Regions from separate parts of the Homo sapiens genome. Here all the other regions are linked to region 1. The links are contacts of gene promoters, found by promoter capture Hi-C in human tissues and cell types (Jung and others, 2019). All regions are on one chromosome and are shown on one strand. Each heading gives the region's core, a stretch centred on a gene start or on the middle of the fragment in contact. The rest is flanking DNA. Distances are from core to core; before and after follow the strand shown.

The links. The method cuts DNA at HindIII sites, captures the fragments that hold promoters and counts their contacts. A contact is called where the count stands out against the background at its distance.
Region 2: a fragment that was not itself captured here is called in contact with the fragment with the promoter of MAFK in region 1 in 2 of the 25 tissues and cell types used here (dorsolateral prefrontal cortex and lymphoblastoid cells).
Region 3: the fragment with the promoter of LFNG here is called in contact with the fragment with the promoter of MAFK in region 1 in 1 of the 25 tissues and cell types used here (lymphoblastoid cells).

What each region holds. Positions count from the first base shown.
Region 1 is chr7:1,529,342-1,532,331 of GRCh38, forward strand. It overlaps MAFK (MAF bZIP transcription factor K), which reads left to right and starts at 1,361. Exons shown (of 3, transcript NM_002360.4): 1 at 1,361-1,557. RefSeq lists silencers at 1,191-1,460, 1,951-2,080. The HindIII fragment of the contact is 23,868 bases long and covers 1-2,990 here.
Region 2 is chr7:2,296,014-2,299,251 of GRCh38, forward strand. All of the region lies in intron 1 of SNX8 (sorting nexin 8), which reads right to left. Among named protein-coding and RNA genes, the nearest start is that of SNX8, 17 kb to the right of the region's middle. The HindIII fragment of the contact is 3,599 bases long and covers 1-3,238 here.
Region 3 is chr7:2,518,524-2,521,797 of GRCh38, forward strand. LFNG (LFNG O-fucosylpeptide 3-beta-N-acetylglucosaminyltransferase) reads left to right here and starts at 1,251. Exons shown (of 8, transcript NM_001040167.2): 1 at 1,251-1,770. The coding sequence starts at 1,339. RefSeq lists silencers at 777-1,306, 1,317-1,426. The HindIII fragment of the contact is 23,923 bases long and covers 1-3,274 here.

The DNA of each region.
Region 1 (2,990 bases), core at 111-2,610:
GAGTGCAGAGTGTGGGCCAGGACAAGGGAAGCACCTTTCCCATCCCCGGGGGATGTCTTTCTGCAAACATCCTGGGGACGTGGGACATTGTCGCTACTGCTGCTGTTGAGTTATTTCTTGGCACCTGTTTCTGCGGCCAGGTTGCAGGCATCACTGTGGCTAGCTGCCCCAGACGGCCGTGTGGGCCTTAGCAAGGAGGGGCCTCCCAGGTGGCCAGTGCAGAACCCGCAAGTGGGGGGGAGAGATGGCCCGGGAGGCTGCCCCCGCGCTCCACAGCAAGAGGCCACTGGGCTGCTGCCTAAATCCCCAGCCACATGGTGGTAAGGACGACACCCAGAAGATGCACAGACCTCCCTGCACTGGCTCCTGAGTCCCACCTGAGCCGAGAAAACAGGCTCCCGGGTCCCACCTGAGCTGAGAAAACAGGCTTCCCAGAACCCCGGGCAGATGCCATGGGTGTCCTGGGGGGCCCTCGGTTGCCCAGGCCTGAAACTCCTCTTCCTGCAGCGCTCAGAGGGGGGCGGGACTTGGGGACCCAGAAGCGTGGCAAGGGGCTCCAGACGGATCCCCTCTCCAGCCTGTCCTCCACCTGTGACAGGAAGCAGAGGCAGCTCCCTCAGGGGCCCGCCCCCACCTGAGGATCCCTCACAGGACTCCTTGGGCCAGTGGTGCCCTAACCCCATCCTGGGCCTGCTGTGTCCCCTGGCAACCACCAGCTGGGGCTTTAGAAGGGGGCTGGCCCCACCCACAGAGGCTGTGATCACTAGCCGCTTATCCCCATTTTTACATTGCTGGTTTGCTTGTTTTGTTTTTTTGAGACAGGGTCTCACCTTGTCACCCAGGCTAGAGTGCAGTGATGAAATCATGGCAGCCTCCACCTTCCAGGTTCAAGCCATCCTCCTGCCTCAGCCTCCTGAATATCTGGGGCCGCAGGCACATACCACCACGCCCGACTAATTTTTGTAATTTTTTTGTAGAGATGGGGGTCTCACTGTGTTGTCCAGGCTGGTCTGGAACTCCTGGGCTCAAGCGATCCTCCTGCTTTGGCCTCCCAAAGTGCTGGGATTACAGGCATGAGCCACCGTTCCCAGCTGGCCTTAATGTTTTTTATGTTTATAGAGACAGAGAATGGGGGAAGGGAGGTTTCGCTATGTTGCCCAGGCTGGTCTTGAACTCCCGGCCTCCAGAGATCTTCCCGCAGGGCCTCCCAAAGCGCGGGGATTGCAGGTGCGCGCGGGGCCAGCGGCCCCCCGGGCGGGAGAGGAGGGCGTGGCCGGGGGGCGTGGCCGCGGGGCGGGGAGGGGGCGTGGCCCGGGGGGCAGGGCGGTGTGACGCGCGCGCCGCGGATCCCGGAAGCGGTGTCAGATGCTGGGGAGCCGGGCGGGCGGGTGCGGTGGCGGCGGGCGGCGCGGGGGCACTTGTTGTTCTTCGCGAAGTCGGAGCCCGAGCGCCAGGCGGCGGCGGCGGCCGAGGGGAGCGCGACAGTGAGCGCCGGCGCGAGGACAGCGCGTGCCCGCGAGGAGCCGCCGCGCGCCCGCGCCCTCCGCGCGACGCCAGGTGAGGGGCGGTGGGGCAGCGGGGCCCGGGCCGCGGCGGGGACGGGGACCGGGGCGCGGGGCCGGGGCTACCTGGCCGCTGAGTCACGGCCGCCTGGGGGCGCGGGCCGAGGGTGGCGGGGTTGGGTGCGCGGGGCCCGAGACCCTCATGCGGCCCGCGGCGCGGCCCGGGCACCTGCCCAGGTGGGCCCCGCCCCGCAGGCCCGGGGGCTTCCCCGGGACGCGAGGCTCTCTCCCCTGCACGTGCCGCCCGGGCCATGCTTGCCGCGCCGGGGGCCCCAGGGCGCGGACCCCAGACCTGGGAGGACGAGGATCCACGCGGGTCGGCGGCGCGCATCGGGCCCGCGCCTTCACACCTGCGGGGGGCGGGGCGGGGCGGGCGCCACGTGCGGGCGGTGCGGGGAGGGCGCGGGCGCGTGGATTCTCCGCGGCTTCCGCCCCAGCGTGGCTTCCGCGTGCGGCCCCGGACTGCCCCCCGCGCTTCCTCCCGGTGACGGGCGGCGCTCTGGCCCAGTGGCTGGGGTCACGCGTGCCCGGGAACGGGGTGGGGGTAACCGGGTCTCCCCACAGGCGGGATCCTGGGACTGGTGTCGCTCTCAGCCGCCCACCTGCCAGGGTTGCTGGAAGGAAGGCCGTGGGGAGGCGGGAGGGGGGCAGGTGACAGTGGCCCCAAGGCTCGTCCCTTTGCTCACGTGTGGGGCAGGGGCTCCGGCCTCTTCCCGCTCCCACTGCGTGAGTTCTTCTGTGCCTCTGTCAAGTTCAGGAAACTGTGTATGTGCCCGTGACTGTGTGTGTCTGCGTCTGCACAGCCTCTAGATCCTGGGGGGTGGGACCAGGCGCCACCGAGAAACCCAGAAAGCCAGGACCCCGCCTGGCCTTGGCCCTTGACCTGGGTCCGCCTGGGACACAGCAGTGGCCCTGCACTGCATTCTCGCGCTCACACCGTGTGTGTCCGTGTTCGCGGGGCCTCCCGTGTCCCTCTCCTGGTGTCCTGCGTCCCTGAGCATGCTGTTTTCTTGCTTCTTAAGTAGCTCTTGTAGCTGAGGCAGAAATTAGATCCACTCACCATTCATTCACCAGGTGACCCACAGGCAGCCAGCCAATCTCTGGCCAGGTGCCTGGCCTTGGGAAGATCCTGAGACTCAAAACGCCCCCCACCGCCCCCCATCGTGGTCTAGGGGATATCTGTGTGGTTCGGCTCTGGCAGCGCCCTTCCCACCCCTCTGATTCTCCAGGGTGGGCTGCCAGGTCTCTTTACTGGCACTGAGGTTTCACCGTCACGGTGTGTTGTTGTAAGGGGTTCTCCAACACAGAGTGGGGTGCCCTATGCAGCTTCTCCAAACCCAATGTCTTCAGGGACATGGAGCATTAAAAGAGCCGTGGGCGGGGTCTGGAGAACATAGGTGGGCTGTGCAGGTGTCTGGGACACACCTA
Region 2 (3,238 bases), core at 195-2,694, 770 kb after region 1:
GATCCCTCCAAATTCATTCCTTTTGCTTAGGATTGCTTTGCCTTTTCGGGCTCATTGTTTCCATGTGAATTTTTGGATCTTTTTCTAATTCTGTGAAAAATGACGTTGGTATCTTGGTAGGAATCACACTGACTCTGTAGATTGCTTTTGGCAGTGTGGTCATTTTCACAATATTGATTCTCCCAATCCCTGAGCACGGGATGTTTTTCCATTTGTTTGTGTCATCTATGATTTATTTCATCAGTGTTTTATTGTTCTCCTTGTAGAGATCTTTCACATCCTTGGGTAACTATATTCCTAGGGTGTTTGGTTGTTGTTATTGTAGCTATTGTAAATGGGAATGAGTTCTTGATTTGATTCTCAGCTTGGTCGCTGCTGGCAGATAGCATGCTACTGATTTGTGTATACTGATTTTGTAACCTGAAACTTCACTGAATTCTTTTCTCAAATCTAGGAGTCTTCTAGAGGAGTCTTGAGGGTGTTCTAGGTATAATATCATATCATCAGCAAACAGAGATAGTTTGACTTCCTCTCTTCCAATCCAGATGCACTTTATTTCTCTTGCCTGATTGCTATATAAATGGGGCTATTTAATACCTTATTTAATGTGATGTAACATTAAGATATTTTGAAACAGCCGGGTGTGGTGGCTCACACCTGTAATCCCAGCACTTTGGGAGGCCGAGGCGGGTGGATCACCTGAGGTCAGGAGTTCGAGACCAGCCTAGCCAACATGGTTAAACCCCATCTCTACAAAAATACAAAAATTAGCCAGGCATGGTGGCGGACACCTGTAATCCCAGCTACTCAGGAGGCTGAGGCATGAGAATCGCTTGAACCTGGGAGGCAGAGGTTGCAGTGAGCTGAGATCACGCCATTGCACTCCAGCCTGGGCAACAAGAGTGAGACTCTGTCTCAAAAAAGAAAAAAATATATACAAATGGCCAAAAAATATATGCAAAATGCTCAAAATCACTAATCCATCACAGGGACATGCAAATTAAAACCACAATGAGATAGTATCTTACCCCAGCCAGAATGGCTATTATTAAAAAGTCAAAGAACAACAGATGTTGGCGTAGATGTGGTACAGAGGGAATGCTTACACGCTACCGATGGGAATGAAATTAGTACAGCCTTTGCGGAAAACAGTATGGAGATTTCTCAGAAAACTAAAGGCACATCTACCATTCAATCCAGTAGTCCCACTACTGGGTAATCACCCAAAAGAAAAGAAATAATTACATCAAAAAGGGGACGGGCATGGTGGCTCACACCTGTAATCCCAGCACTTTGGGAGGCCGAGGCGGGCAGATCACTTGAGGTCAGGAGTTCGAGACCAGCCTGGCCAACATGGTGAAACCCCATCTCTACTAAAAATACAAAATTAGCCAGGCACGGTGGCACATGCCTATAATCCCAGCTATTTGGGAGGCTGAGGCAGGAGAATCGCTTGAACCCAAGAGGGACAGGTTGCAGTGAGCCGAGATTGTGCCACTGCACTGCAGCCTGGGCAACAGGAGCAAAACCCCGCCGCAAAAAAAAAAAAAAAAAAAAAAAAAAATACCTGCACATGCCCATTTATCGCAGCACAATTCACAGTTGCAAAGATATGGAATCAACCTAAGTGCCCGTCAACCGATGAGTAGATGCAGAAAATGTGGTTCATATACATCATGGAATTCTACTCAGTCATAGAAAAGAATGAAATCATGTCTTTTGCAGCAACTTGGATGAGACTGGAGGCCATTATCCTAAGTGAAGTAACTCAGGATCAGAAACCCAAATACCACATGTTCTCACTTATAAGTGAGAGCTGAACTACGGGGACACAAAAGCAGGCAAAAGTGGGATAACAGACACTGGACCCTCAGAGGGCGGGAGGGGGTGAAGGATGAAAAATTACCTACTGTGTACCATGGACATTATTTTGGTGACAAGTACAATAAAAACCCAGCCTCGACCAACGAACAATTCATCTACATAACCAAAAACCAGCCCTAAAACTATTGAAATAAAAATATTTTTTTAAAAGAAACACTAAAAAAACACAAAAAATGTTAAAGCACCTAGCATGGTGCCCAGGGCCCAAGCTTTTCTTTATTCTTATTTTTAGAGAGGATCTCGCTCTGTCGTGCAGGCTGGAGTACAGTAGTGCGATCACAGCTCGCACAGTGCGAGATCACCTCGAACTCCCAGGCTCTAGTGATCTTCCTGCCTCAGACTCCCGAGTAGCCGGGGCTACAGGCCTGCCCCATCATGTGCAGCTAACTTTTTATTTTTTTTGTAGAGGCAAAGTCTCACTATGGTGCCCAGGCTCTGAACTTTTCTTTTTCGTTTTATTTTTGGTTTGGGTTGTTTTGTTTTGTTTTTTGAGACGGAGTCTCATTCTGTCCCCCAGGCTGGAGTGCAGTGGTGCAATCTCGGCTCTCTGCAACCGCAGCCTCCCAGGTTCCAGCAATTCTCCTGCCTCAGCCTCCCGGGTAGCTGGGATTACAGGCATGCACCAGCACGCCCAGGTAATTTTTGTATTTTTAGTAGAGACGGGGTTTCACCATGTTGGCCAGGCTGGTCTCGAACTCCTAACCTCAGGTGATCCACCCGCCTCAGCCTCCCAAAGTGCTGGGATTACAGGCATGAGCCACCACACCCAACCTGGGTTTTGGTTTTGTTTTTGTTTTTTGTTTTTTGTTTTTGAGATGGAGTCTTGCTCTGTCCCCCAGCCTGGAGTGCAGTGGCACGATCTCAGCTCACTGCAACCTCCACCTCCCAGGTTCAAGAGATTCTCATACCTCAGCCTCCCGAGCAGCTGGGATTACAGGCACATGCTACCACGCCTAGCTAATTTTTTGGATTTTTGGTAGAGACAGGGTTTCGCCATGATGGCCAGGCTGGTCTCGAACTCCTGACCTCAAGTGATCCTCCCACCTCGGCCTCCTAAAGTGCTGGGATTACATGCGTGACCCACCATGCCTGGTCTGAGCTTTTCTTTTTTAATGGGCCTATACTCCTGATACCAAATTCCCAGATCAAACCACAGACAGAGCAAGCTGCTGACCAGGGTCAGGGCTCCCCAGAGAGCTAGGTTCCTCGATAGGACAACGGCATCTTGTTCTCATCAGGAACCAGACCACGCCTGAGGTTCCGTGGATGATTACAAACAGAGCACGGGCCATCCATCGCTGAGACCCAGGGAACTGCATATGAACCCCCCACGCACACCCACACACAAGCAGGA
Region 3 (3,274 bases), core at 1-2,500, 990 kb after region 1:
ACTATGTCCCAAAACCTGTTCCAGGTCTGAATGACACCAGGTCGCTGCTGTCTTGCGGCTGACATTCAGGTAGAGGTAAGGAGAGGGGCTCCAAGGGCACTTAAAGAATTTAAAATGCCATCTCAGGCGTGAACATAACTCCGAGGGGGGCAGTTTAGCCACGGTGGTGGCGGTGGTGGTCGTGGTGGTCGCAGAGACCCTGCTTAGGAGGGCACGGGAAGACAGCGCAGCCACGGGCAGAGCCGCCTCCGTCCACGCTTCCGGAGGACGTGGCGGGCAGGGGGCTCACACCCTGCTCAGGCGACCCTTGGCCACTTCCGGGCCCCTCGCCCCTCACCCTCGGCTGCCGGCGCGCATTCCTGCCGCCCCCGCTCGTGCGAGGGGCGGGCCCGGGCCCGTGGGAAGGGCCGGGGATGGGGGCCGTGTGCCGGGGAGGCGGGGTGGGGAGGGCGCACAGCTGGGCCGCATCTGGCCCGAGCGCAAGGAGACCAAATGGGACAGAAGGCGGCCTTTCATCCGGCGAGGGAAGTGGCGGCCTTCGTTTCTCCTCGCCATGGGGCGCCTGAGGATTTCGGGGAGCCAACCCTCCCGACGGAGGGCCAGGATCGAGGAAATCAGCCAGGGAGGAAGGAGTGGAATTTGGTTCTGGTGCTTTCTCGTTAGAACCTCGTGTCCCCACCTGCGGCACAGGTGGCCAAGCTCTTGCTCTGTACAAATAACGGCTCCCCTGAACCGAGCGCTCGGGAAGACCCAGGCGCCACCCCAGTTTGCAAGGCCTGCCGCGTCCCAAGGGGAGGAAGCCGTGCTCAGGAGGGGAAGCGCACAGCGAGGAAGTAGGATGTCCCCCGCGGTGCGTCGGAGCCCAGAGCCCGGGTCTCAGCACCCTGCCCGCTGCGCCGAGGGCGCGCCCCTCCCGTGCCGGGACGCCCGGTGCATCCCCGGACGGCGCTGGCCAGGCTGGGTTTCCTCTTCAGGGACACCGGCGCGGGCCGGGCCCGTCCCCAAGCCCCTCGGCGGCCCGCAGGGGCTACCCGGGGCGGGGGGGGTGCGGGGCGTGCACGTGCGCGCCGGGGGCGGGGCCGCTGCGCCCTCTGGGCAGTTCCCAGCCCCCAGCCGCGGCCCCACGTGGGTCTGCGGGCGTGGAGCGGCGACCGGCGCGAGGCCCCGCCCCCGAGCCCGGGAGCCAATGAGCGCACGGGGGCGGGACCGGGGCGGGGAGGTTTAAGAGCGCGGGACACTGGTGCTGCGCTGCTGGACTGCGCCGCCGGAGCGACGGGCTTCGGGTCGGTGCAAGGCAGGCGCACGGGGAAGGGCGCGCCGCGCGGCCGCCACCCCACCATGCTCAAGCGCTGCGGCCGGCGCCTGCTGCTGGCGCTGGCGGGCGCGCTGCTCGCCTGCCTGCTGGTGCTCACCGCCGACCCGCCGCCGCCTCCACTGCCCGCCGAGCGCGGCCGGCGCGCGCTGCGCAGCCTGGCGGGCCCCGCGGGGGCTGCCCCGGCGCCCGGGCTGGGGGCGGCGGCGGCGGCGCCCGGGGCGCTGGTCCGCGACGTGCACAGTCTGTCCGAGTACTTCAGCCTGCTCACCCGCGCGCGCAGAGATGCGGGCCCGCCGCCCGGGGCTGCCCCCCGCCCCGCCGACGGCCACCCGCGCCCCCTGGCCGAGCCGCTCGCGCCCCGAGACGTCTTCATCGCTGTCAAGACCACCAAAAAGTTCCACCGCGCGCGCCTCGACCTGCTGCTGGAGACCTGGATCTCGCGCCACAAGGAGATGGTGAGCCCCCCGCGGCCTGGACTGGCGGGCGAGCGGGGCGGGGACCCACCATCTGGTCCAGCTGGTGGCAGTGTCCCATGGGAGTCAGGCTGCATCCCCATCCAGCCACTAGGGCCATCTGTGGGCGACGCCAGTGCACCCCGGTGCACCCAGTTTGCCTGCTGGGGCCACTCTCCCGTTACAGTTGTGTTACTGTCCCCGGGGCCCCGCCTCCTGTCCAGCTCCAGAGTCCTGGATGGCTGCAGGACCCTACACCAGTCTCCAGTGCTTGGGGTTGGTGCCCTGTGATACTTCTCACCCCGTAAACATTGGAGCGCATTCATAGGGCATTATGTCCTCAAACTTCCACAAGCAAATTCTGTTCGGACCCACCCTCAGCTCAGACCCCTTCCTGGGGAGAAAGGCTCTTCCTTTAGAGAAGTGAGGGGTTCTGACCTCTGGGCCCTTTCCTCATCACAGTGTTAAGGTACGGGGAGGGAGGGAAGTCATTGCTGGTTGGTGGGTCCTGGGGAGTACATCTCAAAGAACTCCAGGTTTTGGGGTCTGTGTGGGGACCCTCCCCGCACAGTGCAGTAGTCTCTGAGGCCTGCAACCTTGGGCACAGCCCACTTCAGTTGGGCATCAGCTTCTTACACACACATAATTAAGACACACCCCACTTTGAACATTTCCCTCGAGGCCACAGCAGGACGGTTGGGCTGGGGCGGGATGGGGACAGTGTGTGGGGCTTGCAGTCGGGGACTGGGGGGGTGTCTCTGGGCTGGGAGATGCAGAGGCATTTGCTGTGAGGGTGGGGGCTCAGGGAAGACCCTGCACGCCTTCCTCCCTGCTCAAACCCCGGAGACCCAGGGCCTTCTGACCTGGCGCTGTCCTGTTTTGGGGCACTGTGGGTGGGTGGGAGCAGGGCTTGGTGAGGTCATGAGGGCGACGGGGAGGGGCAGGGTCCTCCCTGGTCCTGGCGTGGGGAAGGGGCCCTGGGAACCCCATGGCAGCCTCCTGGGAACACAGCGTCCCATTCCCAGGGGCTCAGCGGGCTGGCGGGAGGGGGCGGCGGGGGCCGTGGGTTTTGTTTGGCGGCCGGGCCGTTAGGATTCCCAGCGCCGGGCGGCTCTCACGCCGGCCCCTTGGGCAAGGTAACAAAGCCCCTTTCTCCAGCGAGAAAGGCGTCGGGCCCCTTGTGTGCAGCTACGCGCTCCGTGGGAACCGCTGCTGGCGTGCTGGCCACTCAGGTTGCCTGGCGATGAGGGGACCAGCGGGCCCCCCCAGCATCTCTTACTGACAGTCCTTTTGGGGCACCATCCCTGAGCCTGGCCCCCCCACCCCCAGCACTCAAGCCTTACTGCTATGTGATCTTGGGCATCCTTCAGCCCCACTCTGGGCTACCACCAGCTCTGAGCACCTCTCATCTTGGAATTTGGGGCCTTTCTCCAACAGAGGGGATGTGGTCAGAGGGCTGGGCTGTGTGATCCTGAGCAAGACCTGGGGCCTCTCAGACCCTCACTCT